Linked DNA regions of Homo sapiens: all the other regions are linked to region 2. The links are contacts of gene promoters, found by promoter capture Hi-C in blood cells and fetal thymus (Javierre and others, 2016). All regions are on one chromosome and are shown on one strand. Each heading gives the region's core, a stretch centred on a gene start or on the middle of the fragment in contact. The rest is flanking DNA. Distances are from core to core; before and after follow the strand shown.

Region 1 (3,718 bases), core at 642-3,141, 590 kb after region 2:
TTTCCTTCTCCATCTGTTGCAGAAAATAAAGAGTCTTTTCTTAGGGTCTAGTGTTTGAGAGGGCCAAAGACCCCGAAACAGACAGATCTTGGATCTTACAGACAGCTCACAGGCCACCTGCAACCCAAGGGCAGAGAACAGAAAAGTCAACAGTGTGTTCTGGGACCAAGAACTGCTTCAGCTATCTAGATTATGTGGAAGGTGGAGACAGTGAGGGTAGAAAAATAGGGCTGGAAAGGTGAGCTGGGACTGGATATGAGGCCTCGATGAATTTATCCCTATGGGCAGAGAGGAGCTACCAAGGTTTCTGAGGATGTTGCTAGATTCTCATCCATGCTCTGTTAAGGTAAGGAGTTCATGGAAAGGATGGACTTAGAGGCAAAAGAATGTAGGCAATAATACAGAGCATAGCAGGAAGGCCTTTGGAAGGGTCCTATGAAGAAACAATGAGAGCCCCAAAAATGAATTCAAAGAAAAATTTGGAAAAATTAAAATTCAAAACACGTGAAGTCTTTTGAAGGGGTGGGGAGGGTTGAGGCAGGGTCTCACTCTATGGCCCAGATTGGAGTGCAGTGACACAATCACAGCTCACTGCAGGCTTGAACTCCTGGTCTCAAACTACTGGCTTCAAGCAATTCTCTTGGCTCAGCCTCTCAGAATGCTGGGATTACAGGTGCAAGTCACCAAGCTCAGCCAGACATGAGTTTTTAAAGAGTGAAGAGAGATTATTTGAACAATTCCCTTAATTTTTCACAGAAAAAGAAGGAAAAAAAAAAAGAAAAACACCCTGGAGCATTATTAATTTTTCAGAGAAAAATTAGAGGAAAAAAAAATTCAGAGAAAGCATGCCAAACCATCCTACTGATGAAATTTACCCTTCCTATATCCTCCCCTAACTTCCCTGCCTCTGTTAACCCACATTTATGAAATTAGCTGAATTTCTTTTTTTAAAAATGTCTGCTTTTTTAAAGGCTATTCCATCAGCTCCTGATTACAAACTCACTAAATGTGTTTTCGCTTTCTTGGCAGGACTAACGTTCCATAAAGGCTTCAGAAAAAGAAAATCAAAAGCTTTGCTTAACTGTGGTCATTACAATGAAGCAAATGCAGTTCTCCCCATGATGCCTGTCTGTGAACAGCGGTGCCATATTAATCTACCTCTGTTGGCAAACAGCTCTGAGATCAGCCCCTAAACCTTTTGCAAATGTAAAACAATCAAACAATCAAAATATATACAGACACATAAATATATCCATATATGTATAATATATATACAACACGTATACTTAATATGATTTAAGACAATATTATTTTATTTTTGTTTTTTCAGAGACAGGGTCTCACTCTGTCAACCAGACTGGAGTGCAGTGGTTGATCCTAGCTCACCACAGCCTTGAGCTCCTGGGCTCAAGCTATCCTCCCACCTCAGCCTCCTGAGTGGCTGGAACTACAGGTGCACACCACCATGACTGGCTAATATTTTATTTTATTTTATAGAGATGGAGTCTCACTATATTGCCCAGGCCAGTCTTCAACTCCTGGCCTCAAGCAATCCTCCCAACTCAGCCTCCCGAAGTGCTGGGATTACAGGGGCAAGCCACTGCATCCAACCAATATATATATATATATATTTTTTTTTTAACTAAAACACTGATGCGGCAAAAACTGTCCAAATTTTACTTATTTCCTAAACCTAACACTGCTATGACAGAAACAGGAAAAGAAACTAAGGCATTTGCTGAATTGTAAAGAAATCAAAATGTGTTTTGAAATACACCAGAGGGATGACCATGTCCCTGGTAAGCCAGGGGTAACAGTTTAGGTGACAGCAAGAAATTTGGGCAGTTGGAGGCCAACCTCCCACCCCTACCTATTTATTCCCTGCCCAGAGGTGGGAGAGGCAGGCAGATGGAGAAAGAGTAATCAAGACCTATAAGGATACGTAGGTTGTCGTCTGTCAATAGTGACAACTTCCTGTCTCTCATCTTGAAACAGTTTGAATTTCACTTTCCTTTGTCATTCAAAAAGCAGGGTTGGAGATGGGGAAAACAGCCAAAGGGACATCAAGGGAGAGGAAAAGAGAAAGCAGAAGGAAGGAGGAGATGAATCCACCAACTGGCCAGTTATCCCCCATTCAGACCCTTGTCACAGACATTCCCTGGAATAAGCGCTGACGCTGATGAACTCCCTGGCCAGTGCAGAAACATTCTCCAAGGGAGAGGCCACACTCACATTGTCGGCCTGGGGCACTGGGCAGACAGCAAATCGTTCCCAGGCCCTCAGCTGAGTCATTCAGACCAGGAGACCAGGGGGGATGCTGACATTCCACCTAAACCTCTGAAGTTCCCTGTGAATGTAGATATTCTTTTCTTTCTGTTGTTTTGTTTTTTGTTTGTTTTTTGAGATGGAGTCTCACTCTGTCACCCAGGCTGTAGTGCAGTGGCACAATCTCAGCTCACTGCAACCTCCGCCTCCCGGGTTCAAGTGATTCTCCTGCCTTACCCTCCTAAGGAGCTGGGATTACAGGCACGCGCCACCACACCCAGCTAATTTTTGTATTTTTAGTAGAGACGGGGTTTCATCATGTTGGCCAGGCTAGTCTCAAACTCCTGACCTCAAGTGATCTGCCGCCTCAGCCTCCCAAAGTGCTAGGATTACAGGCGTGAGCCACCGCAGCTGGCTGGTATTCTTTTCTAGAGCAGTCAAGCTTTATGTCTGCCTGTGAGACTTTGTTAAGCCTTTACCCTCAAAGAGCTTGTCTCCCCTCATTTAGAAAATGGCAAAACCCCACAGTCTATTGGATTCACAGGAAGATTTGGGGACACAATGCTGGTCAAGTGGCTAAACATGATACTCCATGCACAGGATGTTCTTAGTAAGTCATTATTGTGGTTTCATTCAGAAACATTGCTCAGTATTGTCTCTATTTTTTTAATATAAAATAAAAATATATTGTCTTATATTTTTTCATTTAAAAAGCAATACTTGGCTAGACGCAGTGGCTCACACCTGTAATCCTTGCACTTTGAGAGGCCGAGGCAGGCGTATTGCCTGAGCTCAGGAGTTCAAGACCAGACTGGGCAACAGGGTGAAACCTCGTCTCTACTAAAATACAAAAAATTAGCCGGGCATGGCGGCGTGCGCCTGTAGTCGCAGCTACTCAGGAGGCTGAGGCAGGATAATTTCTTGGACCCAGGAGGCGGAGGTTGCAGTGAGCCGAGATTGCACCACCGCACTCCAGCCTGGGCAACAGAGCGATACACTGTGTCTCAAAAAAAAAAATTAAATAAAGCAATACTTTATTTAAATATAAAATTAAGCTGGGTGTGGTGAGGCACACCTGTAGTTCCAGCTACTTGGGAACCTAAGCAGGGGAGGATAACTTGAGCCCAGGAGTTCTAAACTGTCGTGTGCTATTATTGCACCTGTGAATAGCCACTGCACTCCAACCTGGACAATGTAGCAAGACCTCATGTCTTAAAAAAAAAAAATCAATAACTACTCATTGAAGCAAACATACACATAGTGTGTGTTTTCTATATATATATATTTTTATACACACTATGTGTATGTCTATGAGGGTGAGTTAGAGAGAGAGAGAGAGCGTGTGTTTGTGTGTGTGTGCATGTGTGTGTGCGTGTGTGTGCATGTGTGTGCGTGTGTGTGTGTGTGTGTGTGTGTGTAAGAGGGAAAAAATCTCCTATTTACTACCACCAAA
Region 2 (4,101 bases), core at 872-3,371:
AGGCGATGGGTAGAAGGCTATCTTAAGGAAAAAGTGTATCATTACTTGCATTTCAAATCCTATGACAGTCTTATCCAACTCTCTGCTAACAGCAATCTGTTTACTTTGTCTCTACACAAGACGAGATAAAGGGTGATATTCGTAATGGCCCAATTTATTTAGTCACTCCAATAATGACGTCTGACCTTGGCACAGCACTTTACAATTTAAGGTGCTGTCCCCATACATAATTCTTGCTTGATCTTCACAGCAACTCTGAGAGATTTCTGGGCAAGAATTAGTTCTTCTGTTTTTGAAATTAATTAACTGAGACAGGATGTCTTTGCAATACATTAGGATATGTCAGGATGGCTAACCCAGACAATTAATTTTCAGGGTTAGTTTTTTTTTCTCTTACATTTTTGTGTTGACTGTTGACTCAGTCTGAAACTAGTAAACTCTCCATTCATTTCTCCTGTGGGACATAGGCTTAGTCTCCCACCGCACCGACTGGGGATACATAGTAAAAAGGCAGGTACAGACTATGTGTGGGTCGAAATCCCCCAAAATAAGTGAACAAACGACCGTTGTCTTAGCCCCTGTCCAGAAACCTTGGGTGTATGTGGTTCTTCCGTATACCAGGGGTCAGCTGTAAAAACTAACTGTATCCTCTGCACTACAGACTACCCTTCAAGCCAAAGCCACGGTTGCTTAATTAATGCTGCCCCTCTCCTGAGCATTCGCCCTTAGAGACAAGTCCACCCCTTTGATGTTTGTCAGGCAGTTTGATACTGATCATACCAAACATCAGGAGCCTGCATTTGTGTCTACGGTAAAAACAACCCAAGACAACTCTTCTGAAGCTGAATCTGCCAGTCACTCTAAATCTGCACTATTGCAATACGACTTCATTAATTACTGCTCAAACACTGGCCTAGAATCAAGGTGGGGCAACTTTCACTAGTCAGGCTAACCTTACAGGAAGGCAAGAAGGTGTTCCCAGAGCCTCACAGGTCCCGGGGGCCCCGGCCTGAAACAGAGCAAAGGAAGAGAGTTACATCAGCACGCTCCCCTAAGACTTGTTGGGGGTGAATCCGCCCTGAAAGCTGCTCACAATGCCCTCCTCTCCACCCAGCCCATGGCACATCCTGAACACATTTCCCGGCTGAACCCAGAGGGTGGCGCTGCCGTCCCAGCCTTGGTCCACGGCCGCCCGCCACTTCCCTGCCTCTGCGGGAGCCCCCCAGCTTGGTCTCCCGCAGGCCGGCGGTGGGGCACGAGCCCGGTAGGGGGCGCCGCCGGCCCAGGCGCCGCTGCTCCCTCCGCCCACCCGGAGGCGGCTGCCGCTAGCCGAGGCCGGCGCGAGTGCACTGCGAGGCGGGCCGCAGGGAGGGAGGCGCGAAGAGGGCGCGAGGGTAGCAGCCAGAGGGAGCCGCCAGCCCTGCCTGCGGATCCCCGCCGGGCGCATGGGGCGCTTCGAGCCGGGACTGCGTGCGGGCCCCGAGGCCAGTTTCCTGCTGTCGTAAGAAGCCGCGCCAGGACGCCCGCCGGACCCCGAGCTGCTGGGAGGATGACCATGGCTGGGGGCAGGAGGGGACTAGTGGCCCCTCAAAACACGTTTCTGGAGAATATTGTTCGGCGGTCCAATGGTAAGAGGTGCATTCGGATTTCGATTACCCGGGCGTTTTATCCGTGCCTTTATTGCAGAACCTCTCGCCGCTCGGAGCCAGCAGATGCAGCAGAACCCGCGAGCTCTGCTAAGGAGCCGCGGCGCGGGCACCCAGGGCAGCCTCCCCGAGGCAGAGAAAGGTGGGCAGGGCGGGGCGGGGTCTGATGGGTCCCCATCCTAACAGGAGAGCTCTTCTGGGGACGCCTTTTGGGCCTTTCTAGCGCCCTCTCGGTCTTATCTCCAAGGATGCGTGACAGCTGCTGAGCAAAGTACTGGGAAAAGTGATGGAAAGCTGGCTGCAGCCGGAGCGGCAGCGCGCGCCCCATCGGCACTGCCCACCCTTCCGCGAAGGCTCTGGGGCTCCCGGGCTGCTCCCAGAGGCGCCGCCTCTCCCCAGGGAGAGCCAGCAGTAGAGACGGGCAACTCCAGGTCCCCGCTGCCTCAGAATGGGAGGATCCGGCTGCCTCCACCTTCCATCCCTGCAACTGAAAAGTCCGAGGTGTCGGGACGTGCTCTCGGCGGCCTGATTCCACCCCTTCACCCACCCACCACTTTCTAGGTGAAGTTAAGGCTCACCTTCGAAGTGAGGGGCAGATGGTTTTCCTGGCGTCAGGTGGGAAGTGGAGGGCACAGGTGCAGAGCGAACTAAATGGTCACAGGTACAAACCTGTTATATTTCCCCTCTTCCAAACCCACAACGGTTTTATGCCACCCTTAAGTGTTGCTCACCTATAAATTCCCAATCTCACCAAACCTATAAATAGATCCATTACCCAATAAACTGACAATCAGCACTCATCTGTTTCCTTGTGGCATTAAGATCGACGGTAGCATGAAGCCTTGAGAGGCGAGAGTCCTAGGAGCGGGGATGGAAAGGAAGAATTCCAAACGCCTTTCGGACTTAACAGAGGAGAGACCCCAACTAAGCACTTGCAGAGCGACTAGGAGTCCTGGCAGTTGGAAGGCGCAGCGCACGAGTTCATCAAATGGCTATATTGAAAGATAGCCAAGCATAAGATGCTCTTTGCAGACTCCTAGAGCCCCCACCCCACCCCTTCCAGAAACAGATGACATTCTTCTACCAGGGAGACATGAGGAGCTAACTTAGGAAATGGGTTTTAATAATGTGTAAATATCACGATTTCAGAGTCTAAGGAGCTTCTGTGTAAAATGATGAGCTTCTGTTTGGATTTAGTTAGGGATTCAGGGGAAGGGCATGAAAAGTGACTTATGCTACTAATAAACACTCTTTAATTAAACAGTGATTTAAGTTTATCTTATAATGAAACACATCAACTAGCATAGCAAATAATCACGTATTATTTAAGTACTTTCTTAGAAATGATCATTTCTTTATTGTGTGCCTCTTAAGAGTGTTTCTGGTCAGTCACCTTTCCTTTCAAGGTCTTCCTTATTCAAACTAAGGTGGCTTTTAGGTCAAGGTCACAGTCATTACCTGGGGATGCAAGGGGATGATAATTGCTATGTGAACAGCCACAATGAACTGTTTTGCCATAAAAAAGCTGGAGTTGTTCATTTATTTTTAAATAAAATAAGAGTTACTGTGCTATTATTGCTATTTTTATTGGACTATTAAGGGGTATGGAGACAATCTTGCAAATTTGGTTATCCCATTGTCAGTGACACCAACTTTCTCATAAATATCAATGACAATTCTATTTTTCAGTAAAGAGGCAGTGCCCTGTAAGTTAGAGGGGAAACCCAGTACCTAATGTATACTGTGTATGTTTTTGAGTGGAGGGAGCAGGAAGAGAAACTTACATGTAAAAGTCACAAGATGCCTTGGGTTTTAAGGGAACCTTAAGAATCTTGGAGCTGTGAAGGCAGAATACTGTCTATTTTAGTTGATCTTATTAGAGCCACTTTCCCTCTGTAATCATAGAATGTGAATAGAATAAGTCACTGGGAATATTTTTAGGATGGGCATTGTCATTTCAACACCAGTTTCAGCAGGTTGATTTCAATTAACCAATCAAATGAATAGCATCAAAAAAAATGAAGCATCTTGGGAGAGTTGGATGAATTTTTAAAATTATTATTTCAGAATAAATGGTTCTCATCTTGAAATATGGGACTCAATGTTTAAAAGGTGATCCCTTTTATAATATTTCCTGAACACAAATGGAAGAAAAAATGTGAACTCCTAGAAATATCACAATATCTGCATGCATTATATTATTTTACTGTGGTGGAAAAAGTCTATTTAAAGATATTGATTGTCTCATTCTAAAATCCATGAGCCCTTTTTTGGACATTACGGTATTAAAATAGCATTTTACCTTTGAATAGCAATATTTTATGATCATTTTATTAGATATTTTCTCCCAGTGGTCCTGTGCAGTATTAATGTTCCTCTTTTACAGATCAGAAAACTGAGTCCTAGGAATATTAAGTGGCTTATTCAAAGTGGCAGAGCAAACAATGCCTGAGGC
Region 3 (4,166 bases), core at 387-2,886, 620 kb after region 2:
GAGGTAATGGACACAGGAATTCACCCTCGAGGGGGGGTCTGACGCCTGTCCAGACCCTGCCTGTCCCTAGCTTCCGGCGACACCCTTGACTCATCCCTGGAACATCCCATCATGCCTGGTACCTCGCCACCTGACATATGACAGGTGATTACTGACACTAAGATTCCCTGTGGGACACCTTTAAATGACAAGATTATTTTATGTGCTTAAGTATCTCTTTACAGACAATGGACACAGCATAGGTGAGAATAAAGAAACTCAAAGCCAAAACATGACAGACCTCATTTACTACATCACTGACCTAAAATAATTACATAATTCAGGAAAAACGGGATTCGAGATATATAAATTCCACTTATTCATAAGTCTTCTGCACAGAGCTCTTCTCTAAGGAGAGATCTACCTGTAGGGAGAGCTGATGTGTTTCATTTGATTTTACATTGACCTGGATAAGATGCTAAGTTCTTCCTAAAATTATATTTAACACAAATTTTTTAAAAATAGAAATGATCTCTTCTCTCAACCAAAACCAAGGCTACTTTGTTCAGCCCCATAAATAAATATCCACACCACAGACAGCAATTTTAAGGTTGCCAGATCTATAATATGGGAGGTAGAAGTATGTGTAGATTAAAACAAAGATTTCAGCTTCCTTCACTCATCCAAAGCTTGTAGAGCCTTTTCAATTACATTAGCGACAGAGACCAACAGACTCTATTCCGGGAATCACAGGACAAAGCAGACATGGAAGAAATCACAGAGATCCGCAGTATATAGTGGGGTCAGAGGAAGGCACTGAAACAGTAATGAAAAACCTAATAATGAGAAATTATATTTATTGTTTAGAATGTGGCAAGTACTATGTTTTGTGCTCACATATACATGCTGGTGAGGCAGGTACTGGTATGCCCAGAGCTGACAGCCAGTAGAAAAAAAGCTGGAAATCAAACTGAACCCTAAAATGCACGAATTACTTGCTCTTCCCAAGCACCCTGCTAAAAGCAGGGTTCTCACTGCCTTTCATTATTACTAATTGAAAATGATGGTTCATGTTAAAAGCTGATGTCTTCCCACTTCCACCTCATTTCTGCTTCTCCCAGCATGGCTGCCCTGCTCCAGGGAAGCCCACCTGCTTCTCCCCAGGTGCCGCCCACCTCCTCCGTCTCAGCTAGCCAGGCTCTGGAAAGTGATGGAAGTTCACGTAAGCAGAGTCATACAGTATTTGTGCTTTTGTGTCTGGATGGCTATCAGTTTTTAAAAAATAAGGTTCATCCAACTCATGCCAACACCATCATTCTCATTCAACCTAGCCATGGCCTCCGGGGGTGATGTGGTAGTCAATTCATTTCTTTCCATTTCCAGGTGCCCTTCCTCATAGAAATGGTGGCCAGCCAAACCAATTCCCTCTCCCATCTCCTCCTCTACTTGTAACATGAGACCTAGCTAAGGACACTAAGCTTTAGCACACCACCTACTGAAAATTTAAAAACTAAATATATTCAAAACCATTTCTGCATTATAAAATATAACAATCTCTGAAAGGCAAAATATGTCTTTCTTATTCAACTAATAGCCAGGAAATTATCCATTCTTACAGCCCTGAAAGATTTCCTTTGCAAAGCACATCTTAGGGCTTTGAAAATACTTCCCAATGACAATTCTGTATAGACACCCAATGCATGAAAGGATGAATGTATCTGAGAACTAATTCTAACTCCAGAGGTGGGACAAAGAGCAGGTTTTTTAAAAATCACCTGTAAATATAAGAGCCTTTGCAATGACTACAAGATATGAGTAGAATATACACAAGCTTTAATTTAATGCTGCCTCTCACTTTCCTTGGATCATGTGAGAAAGGCAGGCGAGGTTAGTGGAGAGTAAAGGGTTATAGTTTCTCACCATGCAGGCACAGTGCAGCACACACAGAGTGGAGAAGGGGGGATGTTAATAGTAAAAGCCAACACACACACACAGTGCTTAGCATGTGCCAGGCACTCATCCATTCTACACACATACAATTATTTTTGCAATAACCCTATGAGGTAGATAGATACTATTATCATCTGCACCACAGAGGAAGAAACAGAAGCATAGAGAGGTTAAGTGATTGTTAGTTAGGGGTAAAACTAACACCTGAGCCCAGACAGTCTCCATTAGCCAGAAGACCCCCCAGGGAACAGTACCTTGGTTTTGAGGAATAAATGGTAGGAATGCACCAACCTTAACTTCCTGAGTTTTGTTATTAGAGGGCTGAGTATCCCAAATCCAAAAATCTGAAATCTGAAATGCTCCAAAATCTAAAACTTTTTGAGCACCAATGAGACACTCATAAAAATGCTCATGAGAGCACCTTCAGATTTTGGATTTTTAAATTTGAGATGCTCAACTAGTATAATTGCAAATATTCCAAAATCTGTAAAGCTCGAAATCCAAAACACTGATTTCTGGTCCCCAGCATTTCAAGTAAGGGATATTCAATCTGCATATTGCAGTTATTCAGTTGGTGCAAAAGTAATTGCATGTGGTCTTTGCCATTGACAGTAATGACAAAACCCACAATTACTTTTGCACCAACCTAGTACATAGGAAAGTGTCCTTAGAAGCATACGCTGAAGTACTCAGAGTGATGATGCTTCATGTCCACAACCTAATCTCAAATAATTCAGGGGGAAAATGTTACATAGGTACTGTGCTTCTAATGTTTGTGAGTTTAAGATTATTTCAACATTTTAAAAATGAAAGATAAAAAGCACACTCCTTGCAAAAGAAAAGCAAACAAGTTCATGTTTTTTGTGTATAGAGAGAAATTAACAGTGCATCCTAAAATCAGAATCTAATTTCTATAACTCGGATTAGTTTTTCCTCATATATTTTGTTTTTGAGCTGTAAATGAGTGAACATATATAAAATGAAAATCAAGACCACATGATAAAACCAGTGATAGCTATCTTACTGGCTGGAAGAATGAAGTGGTTCATAAAGCTGCTCTTCATAAGAGCCATTATCTTAATCTTACCAACTCCACCACCAATAAGTCAGGCAACATATTTGATACGACGCTAAAGGTTTGGCTTAAAGAATGTATATGCCTTTTCATCCTGTTCCCATTAGAAAAAAATAAACCAAACATATTTAAAACTATAAACTGTTATTTAAATTTATGTGATATTTTAAAAATGTTATTTCATCATTACTTAATAATTTTATTAAGTATCATATGAGAAAGTGACTCTATCCAAAAGAAAACTGTGGTCTACCCAACCAGAGGTCTAGTTCCATGTTACCAGAATTTGCGGGCTTTTGCAGCTTCTTCAGAATCATGAGTTCATTCTTCTATTATCATTATTATTACATAGTGACAAATTATAGTTGTATGTATTTATGGGGTACGAAGTGATGCTAGGACTTTTTTTTTTTTTTTTTTTGAGAAGGAGTCTCACTCTGTCACCCAGGCTGGAGTGCAGTGGCATGATCTCGGCTCGCTGCAACCTCCACCTCCCAGGTTCAAGCAATTCTCTTGCCTCAGCCTCCCGAGCAGCTGAGATTACAGGTGCATGCCACCATACCTGGCTAATTTTTTGTATTTTTAGTAGAGATGGGGTTTCACCATGTGAGCCAGAATGGTCTTGATCTCCTGACCTCGTGATCAACTCGCCTTGGCCTCCCAAAGTGCTGAGATTACAGGCATGAGCCACCATGCCCGGCCATGCTATGATTTTTTAACATAATGTGGAATGATTAAATCAAGCTAATTAATATATCCATCACCTCAAATTTTTTGTCATTAGAATATTTGAAATTTACTCCATCAGTGATTTTGAAATGTATAGTATGGATTTCCTCTTTACCATGGTAAACCTAACTCATGTTCCTTCCAAAGAGTTCAGGGGTGGGGCCTCCCTTGTAGGGCCATCTTTAATTTCAAAACACTAGCAATGCAATGAACTCTAGAAATATATTCTCATGGCCAGGTGCGGTAGCTCACGCCTGTAATCCCAGCACTTTGGGAGGCCAAGGCAGGTAGATCACAAGGTCAAGAGTTCAAGACCAGCCCGGCCAAAATGATGAAACCCTGTTTCTACTAAAAATACAAAAATTAGCCAGGCGTGGTGTTGGGTGCCTGTAATCCCAGCTGCTAGGGAGGCTGAGGCAGGAGAATCACTTGA
Region 4 (4,097 bases), core at 7-2,506, 650 kb after region 2:
TACTTGAGGCACTTTTGTGGCCATTCACAGACAAGTTCTGTGCAGCAAAATATGTACATCACCCAATGAAGTCTGAAGTGCTGCTGAGGACCTCAGCTGGGTGAGATCCGACAAGGCCCATGCCACCTCCATGCTTTAGCTCTCATACTAGGAGTATCCTTTCTACCACCTATTTAGTGCCTTGTTTTTCACATTTTTGTGTTTTTGGCGATTTCATTGTTAAAAGTGACCCCCAAGCACAGTAATGAAGTGCTGTCTAGCGTTGCTAAGTACTGGAAGGCTGTGATGAGCCTTATGGAGAAAACACAAGTGTTAGAAAAGCTTTATTCAAGCACAAGTTATGGTGCTGTTGGCCATGAGTTCAATGTGAATGAATTGACTACATATGGTAAAGAAGGCATCTTTAAGCAGAAACATTCAAAAAAACAAAGTTATGTATTATCAGTTGATGAGAAGTTTGTAACCAGAGGCTAGCAGGAACCTAACCCTGTATTTCCCCTAGAAGCAATGGCCCAGTGGTCATTAATTCAGTGTTTGTAAAGTGATATTAACTGTATACTGCAACCCTTCCCCCAGAACTCCAAGTCCCCCTCCTCATCCTGCTCTATTTTTGCCATAGCATTTATCACACATCCTAACACACCATATCATTCGCTTATTTATTAGGTTTGTTAATTATCTGTCTTACCAGCTGGAGAGTAAGCTATGTGAGCGTATGTGCTTTTGCCTGTTTTGTTCACTACTATATCCCCAGCACAAAGCACAGTTGCTGACACATAACAGGCACTCAACAAATATTTGTTCGATCAGTGAATGGATAGATGGATGGAGTCACAGCCTCCCCTGAAGCAGAGATCTGACAAGTGCCTTCCTAGAGGAAAAGTCCCACATGAGTGTATCCAGGAAAATAAAGGAATAAGGTGGGAATGCTCTCCTGGAGGGGAGCTATCAGGGAGAGGTCAGCTGAGCCTAAAGGGAAGCAGAGGCTGGATGGGGAACAAAGTTTACCTGCAGGCTCTGAAGCTGAACCCAGGTAGACAGCTGCCAGGTTTCTAGAGGCAGACTGTAGATGGAAAGTGCAAGACAGCAAGGGGTGCAGGATGTAACGGGCTCCAAACAGAAATGGGGGGTGCCAAGCACCATCATATTTGCATTAATCCTTAGTAACTAAAATCCCTGGTGTTGTGCCTCCTGGAATAAGCTCCATAGAGTTGCCCATGTAAGCAGCAGCTTCATTACATATCAATAGCTGCAGCTCCATGTCTTCCCTGGCAACTATTTATGGCTAGTGTTCCATTACTGGAACACGAAGCATGTGGGAGTTACTTATATCCTACTGCTCAATGTCATCGCCGAGGTCTGATTGCAAATATTCAAAAAATTGCAACCTCAGGCATAAATGGGTTAATTGCTGGCTCAACTTTGACTCCTCAGCTTGCAGTCTGTCCGTGGGATTTCAATACGGAGGTGAGGTCTCTCTCAATCCTGATTCACCTCCAGCACACTTTGGACGTTGGTGTCAGTATCCCTGGAGGGTGACTACACCTTGTTCTACCCCATATGAACTTCCAATAGCTATGTAATTCATATTGTGTCAGTTTAGTCAAAAGACACACATACACACACACACCTTTAATGCCTGAATGTCCAGTAACAAACAGAACATGAACCTTAATTTATACAGAAAGATTAAATTCTCACCTTCACCCCAGCAGGTAGGCATCATTAGCCCATTAACAGGTAGAGAAACTAAGGCTTAGATAAGTTAAGTACCTTGACCGAGGTGACAGAACTAGTAAGGACAGGATGTGACTCCGAGTCTGCTGGACTCCAAAGCTCATGCTCTATTCTCTAGACTACATCATTACATAACTCCCTTAAATGCTTTTTAAATGAATTAAAATATTGCTCTGCTTTTCCAACAACTTTATGTCAAAGTGACGTACAATTATTCAAACAAAACAATTTATTTCACTTATTTTCAGGGAATTAGTGTAATTTCATTTAGTTTTCAAGGTATCCACTGACCACAATATTTACATTTTAAAGACATGACAGTTTAAAGCTAATCACTGGTAAACTGTTACAGAAACCAACATCAAGTAAACTAGGACATGCTATTGGGAGATGACATGGTGTTGTCTCAGGTCTGCCACTCTCCTCTCTGGGCAAATCATTTAACCTAAGCTTTTATTTTTCTCATCAATAAAATGGAGATGACAAAAACAAGGCCTTCTCCGACTAATCTACTGAACCAACAAATGAGACAATAGATGTGGAAATGTTTTTAAACATTCAGGGGCTATGGAGACTCAGTGATGGTCATGCCTGTCTTGTGACACATTACTTGTCAGTATTAACTCCCTGAGGGCAGGGACTCCTCTATTCAGCTCTGTATCATATACATTTGTCAATGGTTGGCCCATAGTAGGTGCTCAATAAATACTCCTTGACCAAAGAGAATTTGGACTTTCAGGTACAATTCATTCTGAGAGGCTCTACAACAAGTCTAAATAGTCTGTAAGCGAAGTATTGATGAGAATAATCTAGACCATCCAAGAATCAAATATGAAGTTACAGAATAATCTGGGGAAAGGTCAAACGATAGGGGACACTCTGTTCAGTGTGATGCTGATAAAACTTGCCCGGGAACAGCTGACAAACTGTTTGCTACTCCTGCTGCTGGCACCTCCACCAGCCACTCAGTGGTCAGAGTACAACAGCCAAGAGATCACACTTTAAGCCCACACGGGTCAGATGGCATGACACAGATGCCACCACTCTGCAAACCCTCTCCCAGATGCTTGTCTCTCATTATGGAGGGAAGGGGTCCAGAAAAATGCTTCCCAGCACCAGAAAAACATTTCATGACACATTCCTCGGGGCCAACAGTTCCAGAGTATCCATCTAAGACTGGATAAATGGCACTTTTGAGGTGCATATATGACAAACTCACACAAGAACAGCCTGCATAGATTTCTTGAGGGCAGGTCCTGTCCCTACTTGTCATAAGGAAAATTCCTTTCTGCCTACATTATGCTGGAAAAGGGCCGAAGAGTCCCTTGTGGTCAAGGCTCCACTAGGAAGATGCTTTCACAGAGTGGGAGAGAATCACTCTCCACCTCACCTAACATCCTTCCCTCTCCTCTGAAGCACAGGCAAGAGACCTAGAACCCTTAGGCTGCTAAAGATTTTCTTAGATTCCAGAGATTCGGCCCCTCACCTTCCTATTTCACCATCCCAATAGCCAAGGACCACAGCCAAATTCCACTTATAACTCTAATTGAAGTCTTTACTCAAACCAGGAAAGGGGCTGGTCCAGTTTCTTGGTTCTACTGATAGGACTCTCACAACCAACAGCCTTGAGGAAGGAAGGCACCTAGGCCACATTTTAGTTGATCATGATTGAGCCAAAGGCAAATATTGGCAAATGATCTCGCTAAAAACTTTCGGAAAATTAAATCTGCTATCTAATAGAAAATGAAACACACAAAAAACATAACATATAAAACCAGTCCCTTGAATTTCCCTCTGGATCAATCCTATTAGAGTGAGTGACCACACAACTCAGGAGGAAATACATCTGTCTCAAATATACCACATCCCACTCTGTAGTAGGAACTCACTTGAGAAATCCTGGGGAACCTAAGATCTTAGCTCTCAGTTTTTTCATTAAAACCAGACTGCAAGAAGGGGACCTAATCCCAACTGCAACATAAATACAAGGAATCTTGGAAATATATTGCTATGACAATTACTGCTACCAATTAAGTCAGCCACCAACTAGACAAGTATTATTTGCAGATTTACATTATGATGACAATGTGTCATAAGATCTGAGCTACTGCCCCCATTACCAAGCCTCTGCAAGTCCATTTCCCTTAGTCTCCTAATGACAACCCTGTTCCCCACTCCCAGCTGAAGAACCTCGATTAAAATAATGCAGCAAGCAACCTTGCCTGACTGCCTCGCAATCACTCACTAATCACAACCCAGGCGCCACCTGTAGGATACCCACGATGTATATTTTAATTAACTTCTTAGCAAATCCTCTGTAGCCTGCAGCTAGCAAGTTTCCCAGAAATGGAATGCCTACT
Region 5 (3,954 bases), core at 173-2,672, 570 kb after region 2:
GTGTTCCTCTGGTATTATGGAGCCAGAAATAGAAGGAGAATTCATGGAACGACAGGAATAATGAAGAACAGACTAGGAATGCCACATTGTTTTCCTAACCATATATTTGCATCATCACCAAATATTTTCTAAGCATCTACTACATGCTGATACTGTGCAACACATCAGAGATGTACAGGAACATGCCAGATCAGACTAAGAGCTTACATCCAACCTAATACTGAGGATGCCTGTGGTGACATTTGTTTCAGGGCAGACTTAACTCACAGCAGAGCTTGCATCTACCACTTTTTTCTGAGAAAGTGAAGACCATCATATGAGCACCCTCTCCTTCCCGAACCATATACATCATCTTTATCACCATCGGCACATGTCCATTCACGATTTGTCCCTTCTCCCATAGTTAAAGAGATGTCCTTTCCACGACTAAGGCTAACTCTGCTTGTTAGCTCCATCTCCTTCTGCCTCCTGAGGAACCATGCTTCCCCTTCCCACCTCCCATCTCCAGTATCTCTATCCAACTTATCTGACTGGTTCTTTCCTTAACCTAAAGATGCACTCCAGTCTTTCCCATTTCATAAATGTCTTTCTTTCATCCACAACTTCTTCCAGCCTCAATCCTAATGGCTTTTTTTAAAAGCAGGTATTTAAGGTCCTTGAAAGAGCAGTCTACACACAGTCTCTAAGTGACCCCCCATCCCATTTCTTCCTTAACCTGTTGCAGTCTGACTTCTGCCCCTCCCCTCCCCTCCCCATTCCATCAGCTTTTGTCAAGGTCATCAAAGACCTCCATATTGTCACAGCCAATGGCTACATCTGTGTCTCTCTCTTATTTGTCCTATCTATTACATTGTGCATTGACAGTGCCCTCCACTTTCCTCTTTAGATAATTTCTGCTTTATGTCTTACCACTACTGTACTCCTTACCTTTAGAAGTATTTTTTAAAATCCAGAACTACCAATGACCTTTTTGTGTATGTCCTCTATGACATTTTTCTATAAATACACATAGACACATACTTCTTATAAGAATAGGATGGCATACATTCCACTTCAGGAAACTGTTCTGTTCACCTAATCATGAGCATCCTTCCACATGACTTTCCTTGTTCACATTTTTGCTTCTGTGGCTCCAATGGAGCTCTCTGTTTTCATCTTTAGAGCCACTGCTCCTCATGCTCCCTCTCAGGCTACTTATTCTCTGCCTAGTTCTAAAAGTATCAGCAACCACTCATGGTTCTGTCTCTTAACTTCTACGTGCTCACACTAGGAGACCACATCAGCACATTAACAATATAGTGAAGCCAGGCGCGGTGGCTCATGCCTGTAATCCCAGCACTTTGGGAGGCTGAGGTGGGCGGATCACTTGAGGTCAGGAGTTCCACATCAGCCTGGCCAGCATGGTGAAACCCCATCTCTACTAAAAATACAAAAAAAAAAAAAAATAGTTGGGCATGGTGGTACGTTCCTGTAACCCCAGCTACTCAGGAGGCTGAGGCAGGAGAATCACTTGAACCCAGGAGGCAGAGGTTGCTGTGAGCTGAGATTGCACCACTGCACTCCAGCCTGGATGACAGAATGAGACTCCATCTCAAAACAAACAAACAAACAAACAAAAACAATGTAGTATGAGTTCATCTATCACCTTAACCAGCTAGTCAACCACTCACTGAGGCTAATAATACACTGATGCTAACATACAGTACATGCTCAAGAAATATCTTCCAAATGAATTGGAAGGCAAGGAGGAAGAGAAAAGAGCTGAAGTGAGGGGTACACCCTGGAGGAGGCCAGCCCAAGTAACTTGGCATGGTGAAGACCCAATATGAGGTTATGGAACAGAATAACAATGGGCTGAGGGGAAAATATCAGAGAAGTATCAAAACCAAGTTCTCTCCTTCACACCTATGCTGAGAGTTGGATCTGTCATACAGTTGCTGAGAGCACCACTGAATAGATAAGAAGTGGTTCCCAACTCCCTGCTCTCCCATGATCAGCCTCCAGGAATCACTGTGCAAGAGTGCCCTTGTGAAGGGGATCTGAAGAGGCTCTCCCTGGACTTCACTCCACCGCAATGTTGAAGAACCCTCCCCATCGTGCTTTCCACCCACTATCCCATAAACTGCCTTCCACCCCACTCTACTCTGATTTCACCTTTAGGCTCCTTCTGGAAGCCATCTCAGATTAACATCATCCATCTTCCAAACCCAAATTATGATCCCCGGCCCCTAACATGATCTTTTCTGCTATTTCTAAATTCTTACAGTTTGGATAATTATACAGTTGCTCAGCTGCTTCATTTTCTTAGCTATATTTGGACCCCACAGGGCTGAGACCTCATCTGTTCCAGAATCTATATCCCACATGCCCAGTACCCTTCTGTATTCCCTCTAGGTACTTACCACAGGCGGAATCACTTGACCCAGAAGCATTAAAACCAAGGAGAGGCCTCAAAGTATAGTGGTTAAGGCATGGATTCACCCTTGGATTCTAATCCTACCTTCACTTACAAGTTGCGAGGCTCCGAGCCAAGTTTATCCGTTCTGAGCCTCAGGCTCCTGATCCTTAGTGGAGGCAATAAAACCCACCTTTGTAGGGACATGGATGAAGCTGGAAACCATCATTTTCAGCAAACTATCGCAAGGACAAAAAAACCAAACACCGCATGTTCTCACTCATAGGTGGGAATTGAACAATGAGAACACATGGACACAGGAAGGGGAACATCACACACTGGGGCCTGTTGTGGGGTGGGGGGAGGGGGGAGGGATAGCATTTGGAAATATACCTAATGTTAAATGACGAGTTACTGGATGTAGCACACCAACATGGCACGTGTATACATATGTAACTAACCTGCACATTGTGCACATGTACTCTAAAACTTAAAGTATAATAAAAAAAAAAGAAAAGAAAAAAACCCACCACAGGAATATCATAAAGCTTAACCAAGACATTGAACACAAAGAGCTCAAAACATGCCTGGCATACAGCAAGCGCTCAGTAGATGTTGGATGTTAGCTGTGACAAAGACTCACCTCAGCAGAAAGAAACATCTCAAAGAAGCAAAAGGAAAGAGCAAGCAAGGAGCCCCGCTCCTCTCTCCAAATCATGAATGGCCTCAGGACATCTGCAGCAAATTCAAAATTCTTTACCCACCCCCCACCCCTTGGCCCTTGGTGATTGGATTGAAAAGACTTTCTGGTAAATACTCTTTTCTTCATGAGTGTGATATTCCTTAATGTGTTGTTTAAGTGGAAGCCCCCAACGTCAACGATGCAGATTAGAAAAATATATATCCTTTCCAACTACCTTCTCTAATTAGTGCTTGATTTGTGCTGCTAATATTGTTTACACTAAAGGGTGCTCTTGAAACAGCAGTCAACTCTCTATCTCCTAAGTGTTCAACAGCTACTTAAAACTGAGCTGGTTTATTGAATGATATCTATAAGTTGTAATCTCATAATTAAGGTTTCATCAGTGCCCATGACACCAGTGCTCTGTAGTGGTTGATACAACAGGGTGTAAGTTTACATTGTATTTGTTTAGTCTCCATCATATTCATCCATTCATTTAACTCAACATCTACTATGAGCAGCCACTATGCACTGGAAGGAGTTAGTAAGTGACTATCAGGTGTCAGGCACTGTGCTGGACACATTGAGGAAAATGAAGATGCCAGAGACACAGTCCCCACCTTCAGGGAGTGTATCCTCAGCCTGACAGACAAAACAAACATTGAGAGTGACAGCCAGAAGAATTGATTTTAAATGTTCTCACCACAAAAAAATGATAAGTACGTGGAGGCAACAAATATGTTAATTACTTTGACAATTACTTCACAATGTGTACATATATCAAAACATCACATTATACCCCATAAATATATACAATTATTATTTGTCAATTAGAAATAAAATAAATGCAGAAAAAAGAGAAAATGACAGCAGTTTA
Region 6 (3,723 bases), core at 209-2,708, 550 kb after region 2:
AATAAATTGATTTCCCAATGGAAGAAAGCAATCAGCACCACCTTCTCAGCAAAGCAAAACTAAAAAGATTGCTTCTCGTCAGTGACTATGTCAGGTTGAGTCTTCACGAAGCCTGCCTCTGCCTGGCCGGCTTCGCGTGGTCACTGCTTACAGAAAATGCTGCAGCCACCTTCTTAATTTAAAAGCATCTCACTGAATCAATGCACCACAGCAAACCCCCAACTCAGGAGGAGGAATCTATATAAATAGTAGACAGTATTGATGACTTCTACCCTTTACTGAGTGCCCATGCACCAGGTGCTTTATGCATACTATTTCTAATCATTAAAACAACCCTCCAAGGAAATAACTAGGCCTATTTTATATAGGAGAGGTAAAATCTGCTCCTAGAATGTTGTAGTTCCAGAAACCCCAGGGCTGGGTGCTTTCACTGATATATTTCTCGTTTAACCAAATCTTCAAAACAGTCTCCACAGAAACATCCACTGATGTTTTATTAACTGAAAAATGTCCTTTCTAGGAAAGAATTCTTGCTCAAGAGAATAATGATTACAATTTACAAAGGGATTTAAGCCAATGAGCTCTGTTAGCCACTGTTCAGTGTCAGAAGACAAGAGGTATAACTTCCGCTTTTGAACAGACTAAGTAGTTGCCCTCTGTCCCACAAGCAGAGATAACACCTGCTATCTCAACTCCCTGACATCCTGCAGACGTCTGCCTGTGTCAGAAGTGGGGCATAAAAAGTTGGTGGCTAGGGTGATGCTGAGTAGAGGTACACAAAGGGAGAAGAAAATATCTAGCTCCCTCATACCTACTATGAAAAACAACACAAATATACGCCCTACAGTGGGAGACAGGGGTGGTAACAATCCATGTGGTAAACGCATTAATCTTAAAATCGCAACACTTCTTTTTTCCAAGGACCTATACAATAGCTCCTTGGCTTGCTACATTATCACCTAACTCTATGACAGACTAATCCCAGACCCCAACAAAGTATGAAGATGAAGCACCAGACACTGACAGACATGGCTTTTACTACGGTTTCCTGCACTGAGCCGAGGTGGGCTTGCTGGTTTCCTGTAATCACTTACCCATTCCTCGGCCGGGCTGGGGCAGGCAGTTGCTGACATCCTACTCTAGCTCCACCTTAACTTTCCACCCTTATTTCCCTTCTCCCCACTTGGCTTTGGTGACAAATCCTAAAATCCTGAATAAAAGAGGATTTGACAGCTCCGTGCCTTTGGTCATACCATTTTCACATCTAGAAGACACTGCTCCATCCTCCCTGATTTTCCAACACCTACTCAGTCTACAAAATCCAGTTGATTTCCCAACTCCAGGAAGTCTCTTTTGCATTTTCCAACTTGCAATTTAACCCAGGAACCTACTGTGTGTACTGTCTGTTCCACTGATTGAACAGCTTTTTACCAAAATGTGTCTATTATGGGTGTCATTTTAACTCAATTGTAAGATTCATTCAGACAGCACTAGATATGTGATGTGTGTATGTGTATGCGTGTGTATGTTACACAGCTACTAGTCAACAGTACTTAAATACGTAACATAATTTCCATTTACTGCTGATAGCCTCGAATAGCTTTTAAACTTGTTAAAAATTGTCACCATTGTCATGGACCCATTATAAGCAACAGAAATGAAAGGATGATTGATTATAAGGTCCTGTACCAGGTACTGGGAGACTTTGGAAGACACCTATTCCTAAAGAATACAGAGCATTGAAAGATGCTGAAGTTTCTCCACACTTTGTAATCCTAATTACCCTACTAAAGTCAAAAGTATGTGTCACCACACCTCTGGAACTACTCCAACCCTAAGAGATTTACCACCCAAAGTAAAAGTACTAGTCCTTTAAAGAACAGAGCCTTTAGTGGCTAGGAAAGGCAAGACTTTTGTCCATGTTACACTGGTGGTGAGGTGACCTCACCTTGGCTCCATCTGGGCCCTGAGACCAGCCCCTGCTCAGGTTTCTCTTCTCTACAGAGCTGGCTGTGCTGTCCTGAGCCCAGCTCTCATGGGCAGTAGCTCCCCTGACCCAACCCTGGCTCTAGCTTTGGCCTTGGCCCACATTTTAGTGTTCTTTCTCACAGCCAGTGATGACCCTCCAGCCAAATCTCCATCTTCTAGGTAGTTCTCAGAAAGGAAGCTACATATCTACTTATAAAAAGTTTTCACAATCTACCCATCTGACAACGGTCTAATACCCAGAATTTACAAGGAACTTAAATGTATTTATAAGAAAAAAACAAATAATCCCATCAAAAAGTGGGAAAAGGATATGAACAGACACTTCTCAAAAGAAGACATTTATGTGACCAATAAACATATGAAAGAAAGCTCAACATCACTCAGCATCAGAGAAATGCAAATCAAAACCACAGTGAGATACCATCTCACACCAGTCAGAATGGTGATTATTAAAAAGTCAGGAAACAATAGATGCTGATGAGGCTGTGGAGAAAGAGGAATGCTTTCACACTATTGGTGGGAATGTAAATTAGTTCAACCATCGTGGAAGATAGTATGGCAATTCTTCGAGGATCTAGAACCAGAAATACCATTTGACCCAGCAATCTCATTACTGGGTATATAACCAAAGGACTATAAATCATTCTACTATAAAGACACATGCACACATATGTTTTTTGCAGCACTATTCACAATAGCAAAGACTTGGAACCAACCCAAATGCCCATCAATGATAGACTGGATGAAGAAAATGTGTGGAATACTATGCAGACATATAAAGGAATGAGATCATGTCCTTTGCAGGGACATGGATGAAGCTGGAAACCATCATCCTCAGCAAACTAACACAGGAACAGAAAACCAAACACCGCATGTTCTCACTCATAAGTGGGAATTGAACAATGAGACACGTGGATACAGACAGGGGAACAACACACACCAGGGCCTGCTGGGGGGTGGGGGGTGGGGGGAGGGAACTTAGAGGACAGGTCAATAGGTGCAGCAAACCACCATGGCACACGTATACCTATGTAACAAACCTGCACGTTCTGTACACGTATCCCCCCTTTTTTTTTTTAAAGAAAGAAAAGTTTTCAAAGGAAGATGTACACAAAAAGGAATATAATTTGCTTTTAATATTTTTCTGTCCAGTAGAGATAATAACAGCATTTTAACAAGTAATAACCAGCAGTTGGTTAATGGGCAACCACAGGCTTTGTCATCCTCCATAAGGCTAAGAGGAGTCTATTTTCAAAGCAGGGAAAATATTTTGAGCTGGGCTAATTCTCAGCTCCTTTACTAAAAGATGCTGTACATAAGCTTCATATGCAATTCTGAAAATTATCTATTAAAAATTCTATGCCCTCTTTGGCAACAGAACATTGTAGGGTTTATAAAACAGAAATTAAATTCAAGCTATATTTAGCCTACACTTCAACTTCTAGGTAAATGTAATTAGATGCCAACATTTAAATAATCTTTCTTTTCGCTCCATGAAGCTGGTAGTTCAGTGAGTTGAAGTATTGTGCTGATGAACCCAAGCTTGTAGCTTCCATCTTAGAGAAAGATTCAACCACAACTTCATAGTTCAAAACCCAAACTCTGGCTTCACAAAAGCTCTATCTTTCTCACAGAAAGAGAGGCTGAGAGAGTCTGAATGGCTCAGTCCAAGCACATTTGCCGCTAGAAAACAGCCCAAGCAGCAACAGTGGCGAAGTATGGGACAAGAAAGAG
Region 7 (3,796 bases), core at 549-3,048, 680 kb after region 2:
GTGCTCTGTAAAATCTATGTGTAGACTGAATTGGAAATTAACTACTAATTAAAGGATTCTATTGCAAATCCTTCAAAAAAGTAAAGAATCCCTTTAGAAAGCAAATAATTACCCCCCTCAAAGTATCCAACAAATTCAGATTTCCATATGTCAACCTGGTTTAAAAGAAACATACAAGTATTTTCTGCATCTAAGAAGTTGTCCGTACACCAAGTTACCTCAGCACAATAATGAGTTAGTTAAGAATGAACAAAGATCATGGTATTCTGAGGGGACTATGGGGGAAGGAGAGAAAGGGGGAAAGGGAAGGCACGGAATAGGGGGTATTTTAAATAACTGTGCTGCAACTTGCTACATTTCAGTATATATTTATAACAGCACATCAAGCAGGCATCTCTTCCATTCTGCAAGCATGCACCATGAAATTATCTTCACACTACATAGAATATCTGTAATTGAACAGTCAAGTTCCAGAGTAGTAAATCCCAGAGTAGCTTTAGGTTTACACTGCATTAATTTTAAATAACCTTAGGATTCTAATCCAAGAAGAAAATTTATAAAAATTTTTTCTACTGTATCTTAACGAACCTTAGAATGTTTAATGCCTCAAAAGAGGGGAAAAAGAAAGGAATCTTATGCTAACTGATATATGTTTGTCTCCCCAGCTTTCAAAACAAGGATCAGACGTCAAATGTCTTATCCCTTTCCTCTCACTGTTATGTTGTAGAATGAGAAAAAGCAAATGGATAACTTTGCTGGCATTTCATTACCATTTAGATAGGTGCACAGGCGTTATTTCAACAACAGTTGGTACTTAAACACTGAGCTAAAAAACTCTGATTACTTACACTTAGACAGGTTTTTAATCTCCAATCAGTGAACAATTAAGTCTTTCAAAAAGGACTCTAATGTACATTCCACAAAGCTTTATTATAAACTTTGCCATGTAAGAACAACCAACTTTCAATTATTTTCACTTTTCTATCTCCTCGCTCACTCTCAAATCCCTTGCTAAAGCTCTCTTTTCTCCCATAAACTCATATACCTGGATTTACCATGGATTTACCATAGAGAAGCACCATTCAATAATAAATTGAAGAAATATTACCTTTCTGAGCTCTTTTAAAGAAAAACCTCAAGTCACTGTCTTTGCTCCTCTTAATCCTAGGCTCTGCCTAGTTAGGGTATAGCTCCACTCTGCCATGTTCTGTTTTCTTAGAAGATTCTGAAGTTCAAAAGAATATAACAGTTCTTATCTTTTAGAGATACTACCGAAATATTCATAGATAATAAGATATCTGGGATTTGCTTCAAAACAATACGGGAGAGAGTACAGATGAAAGAAAACTGGCCAGGAGTTGATAATTGTTGAACCTGGGAGATGAATACATTAGGGTTAATTCTACATTTATGCTTTTAATTTTCCAGAATGCAATATTCTAAAAGGGGAGGCACTGAGAGCCCCCACCTGAACCCTAAATATTCAACTTCCTCCTCACTACCAATTGAATGCATGTGCAGGGGGCAATGAGCAAAATGGGCTTATCTCAGCACAATCCCACCTCCTTGCTCAGCCTTTGTGCATAGAAAGCATGAAAAATAGAAAAATGGAGAGGCGAATTATGGGAGGGAGAAGGGGGAGAATGCCAAGGATCAGAATAATGAATTAGCTTATCAGTCCTTAGATCGCTGGGAATTGGCAGTCTATGAAGAAGAATATCTTTCTATAACAAGATGCCCCATGGTGATCTTTAGCAATTACAACAGCACTTCTGAAATTCATCTGGTCCTAAACACCTTCTGGGATAATAATCACAGAGAATCCTAGCCTCTCCTTGAAAGATTCTGTTTAGTATCTGAGCCAGAGATCTGAAATCTCTATATAAAACAAGCACTAGAAAATTATGCCCAGTCAAGTTTTAGAGATCTAGGTTACAAGTTCCATACCCTACTTTCTTTTCCCATTTTTTAAAAGATATATCATGTTTTGGGAGGCTGAGCCAGGAAGATCACTGGAGACCAAGAGTTGGAGACCAGCCTGGGCAACATAGCAAAACCATGTCTCTATAAAAAATTTAAAAATTAGTCAGGCATGGTAATGCATGCCCACAGTCATAGCTACTTGAGAGGCTGAGGTGGGAGGATCACCTGATCCCAAGAGTTCAAGGGTGTAGTTAGCTATGATCGTACCACTGCACCTCAGCCTAGGTAACAGGGTGAAACCCTGTCTCTAAATAAATAAATATAAATATAAAAAGATATTTCAAAGTGTAAATAGCAGTTTTCTTGGAAAAATAGAAATTACCTTTCTGTTGTTTTAATTTTCCAAATACTAATTTCATTAATATTTTCTGATTTTCAGGTATAGAAAAGAAAAAAAGTCACCTTTCTCGTTCAGTTTGTTCTGTGGCAGAATTTCAAAGGTAATGTTCCAAATTCATTCTGACATTCATCACTGAGTTATCCAAAAAGAGAACATGCAGGGAATTTCAAAGAGAAATCTTATGCCACAGAAGTGACCTTTCATTTTATTAGCTAAAGACTGCTATCATTTTGATAAGCACAACTTAGTTGTGAAGAAACAATGCTCTGCTAGTCTGAGAGCAAAGATCAGCGGCGACCCAGACCCAATCTAATACTCCCTACCAGAGAAACCAAGCTCCAAGCTTCTCTGCAGAGTTCTGCTAAAAATACTTCCACAAATAGTGCTACAAACAACTTTTTTTTTTTTTTTTTTTTTGGAGATGGAGTCTCGCTCTGTTGCCCAGGCTGGAGCGCAGTGGCATGATCTCGGCTCACTGCAAGCTCCACCTCCCGGGTTCACACCATTCTCCTGCCTCAGCCTCCCAAGTAGCTGGGACTACAGGTGCCCACCACCACACCCGGCTAATTTTTGTTTTTGTATTTTTAGTAGAGACGGGGTTTCACCGTGTTAGCCAGGATGGTCTCGATCTCCTGACCTCGTGATCTGCCCGCACTTTTAACAAAACTTAACACCACCCTATCCCATAGTGTAGGAAGTAGAAGAGAAAAAACGTTACTGCCAGTTATCAAAGCTCCCTCAAAAGATAAATCCTCAGCTAATTTTCAAATTTGCTAGCATTCCAGGGGAAAGCTGTTTGTACATTTTATCTATATATTTATTTAATATGTAGATTCATTATAAAATGTGCCCTCTGCTATTGTCACAGTCCTTGGGGTATGTAAAAAAAAAAAAAAAGATTTACAATGTACCAATTATAAAAGATATGGCCAGGTGCGGTAGCTCATGCCACTGCACTACAGCCTGGGCAACAGAGCAAGACTCCATCTCAAAAAAAATTTTTTTAAAAATAAGATACAAAATAATTTTTTAATCCTTCAGAATAGGAAAGTTGCACTCAGAACATCTTCCCTTTCACAGAAGAAATGTTTGAAAAGCAGGATGTATCCAAGGCTCCAGTGATCTATGCAGATCTTCCATACATTTTCCCCAGTTGGCACCCTTCCCAATAGCTTTAATGGCCATATCCTCACTGTTTCCCACCCCCCCCACCTGAGACGCAGTCTTGCTCTGTCGCCCAGGCTGGAGTGCAGTGGCGCAATCTTGGCTCACTGCAACCTCTGCCTCCCAGGTTGAAGCAATTCTCCTCCCTCAGCCTCCCAAGTAGCTGGAATTACAGGCGTCCACCATCATGCCCCGCTAATTTTTGTAGTTTTAGTAGAGATGGGGTTCACCATGTTGGCCAGGCTGGCTTTGAACTCCTGACCTTGTGATCCAACCACCTCGGCCTCCCAAAGTGCAGGATAACAGGGG

The links. Contacts are between HindIII fragments. The CHiCAGO score rates a contact against its expected background, and 5 or more counts as called.
Region 1: a contact is called between a fragment that was not itself captured here and the fragment with the promoter of KCNH1-IT1 in region 2, in 1 of 17 cell types (M1 macrophages). The highest score is 6.1, in M1 macrophages.
Region 3: a contact is called between a fragment that was not itself captured here and the fragment with the promoter of KCNH1-IT1 in region 2, in 2 of 17 cell types (erythroblasts and M0 macrophages). The highest score is 5.7, in erythroblasts.
Region 4: a contact is called between a fragment that was not itself captured here and the fragment with the promoter of KCNH1-IT1 in region 2, in 6 of 17 cell types (endothelial precursors, M1 macrophages, fetal thymus and 3 more). The highest score is 9.3, in endothelial precursors.
Region 5: a fragment that was not itself captured here is called in contact with the fragment with the promoter of KCNH1-IT1 in region 2 in 2 of 17 cell types (M1 macrophages and endothelial precursors); the score reaches 5.8 in M1 macrophages.
Region 6: a fragment that was not itself captured here is called in contact with the fragment with the promoter of KCNH1-IT1 in region 2 in 12 of 17 cell types (M1 macrophages, M0 macrophages, M2 macrophages and 9 more); the score reaches 26.3 in M1 macrophages.
Region 7: a fragment that was not itself captured here is called in contact with the fragment with the promoter of KCNH1-IT1 in region 2 in 11 of 17 cell types (endothelial precursors, M2 macrophages, megakaryocytes and 8 more); the score reaches 20.4 in endothelial precursors.

Annotation. Positions count from the first base shown.
Region 1 is chr1:210,540,410-210,544,127 of GRCh38, reverse strand. The region is part of intron 9 of HHAT (hedgehog acyltransferase); the gene reads right to left. Among named protein-coding and RNA genes, the nearest start is that of HHAT, 210 kb to the right of the region's middle. The HindIII fragment of the contact is 1,636 bases long and covers 1,074-2,709 here.
Region 2 is chr1:211,131,394-211,135,494 of GRCh38, reverse strand. It overlaps KCNH1-IT1 (KCNH1 intronic transcript 1), which reads left to right and starts at 2,121. Exons shown (of 2, transcript NR_046784.1): 1 at 2,121-2,307; 2 at 2,469-3,216. It overlaps KCNH1 (potassium voltage-gated channel subfamily H member 1), which reads left to right and starts at 1,347. Exons shown (of 11, transcript NM_172362.3): 1 at 1,347-1,628. The coding sequence starts at 1,550. RefSeq lists silencers at 1,166-1,445, 1,940-2,130, 3,357-3,557. The HindIII fragment of the contact is 10,582 bases long and covers 1-4,101 here.
Region 3 is chr1:210,507,458-210,511,623 of GRCh38, reverse strand. The region is part of intron 8 of HHAT (hedgehog acyltransferase); the gene reads right to left. Among named protein-coding and RNA genes, the nearest start is that of HHAT, 180 kb to the right of the region's middle. The HindIII fragment of the contact is 353 bases long and covers 1,460-1,812 here.
Region 4 is chr1:210,477,625-210,481,721 of GRCh38, reverse strand. All of the region lies in intron 8 of HHAT (hedgehog acyltransferase), which reads right to left. Among named protein-coding and RNA genes, the nearest start is that of HHAT, 150 kb to the right of the region's middle. The HindIII fragment of the contact is 1,866 bases long and covers 324-2,189 here.
Region 5 is chr1:210,561,611-210,565,564 of GRCh38, reverse strand. The region is part of intron 9 of HHAT (hedgehog acyltransferase); the gene reads right to left. Among named protein-coding and RNA genes, the nearest start is that of HHAT, 230 kb to the right of the region's middle. The HindIII fragment of the contact is 3,046 bases long and covers 1-2,945 here.
Region 6 is chr1:210,579,722-210,583,444 of GRCh38, reverse strand. The region is part of intron 9 of HHAT (hedgehog acyltransferase); the gene reads right to left. Among named protein-coding and RNA genes, the nearest start is that of HHAT, 250 kb to the right of the region's middle. The HindIII fragment of the contact is 3,706 bases long and covers 1-3,311 here.
Region 7 is chr1:210,450,032-210,453,827 of GRCh38, reverse strand. The region is part of intron 7 of HHAT (hedgehog acyltransferase); the gene reads right to left. Among named protein-coding and RNA genes, the nearest start is that of HHAT, 120 kb to the right of the region's middle. The HindIII fragment of the contact is 1,741 bases long and covers 928-2,668 here.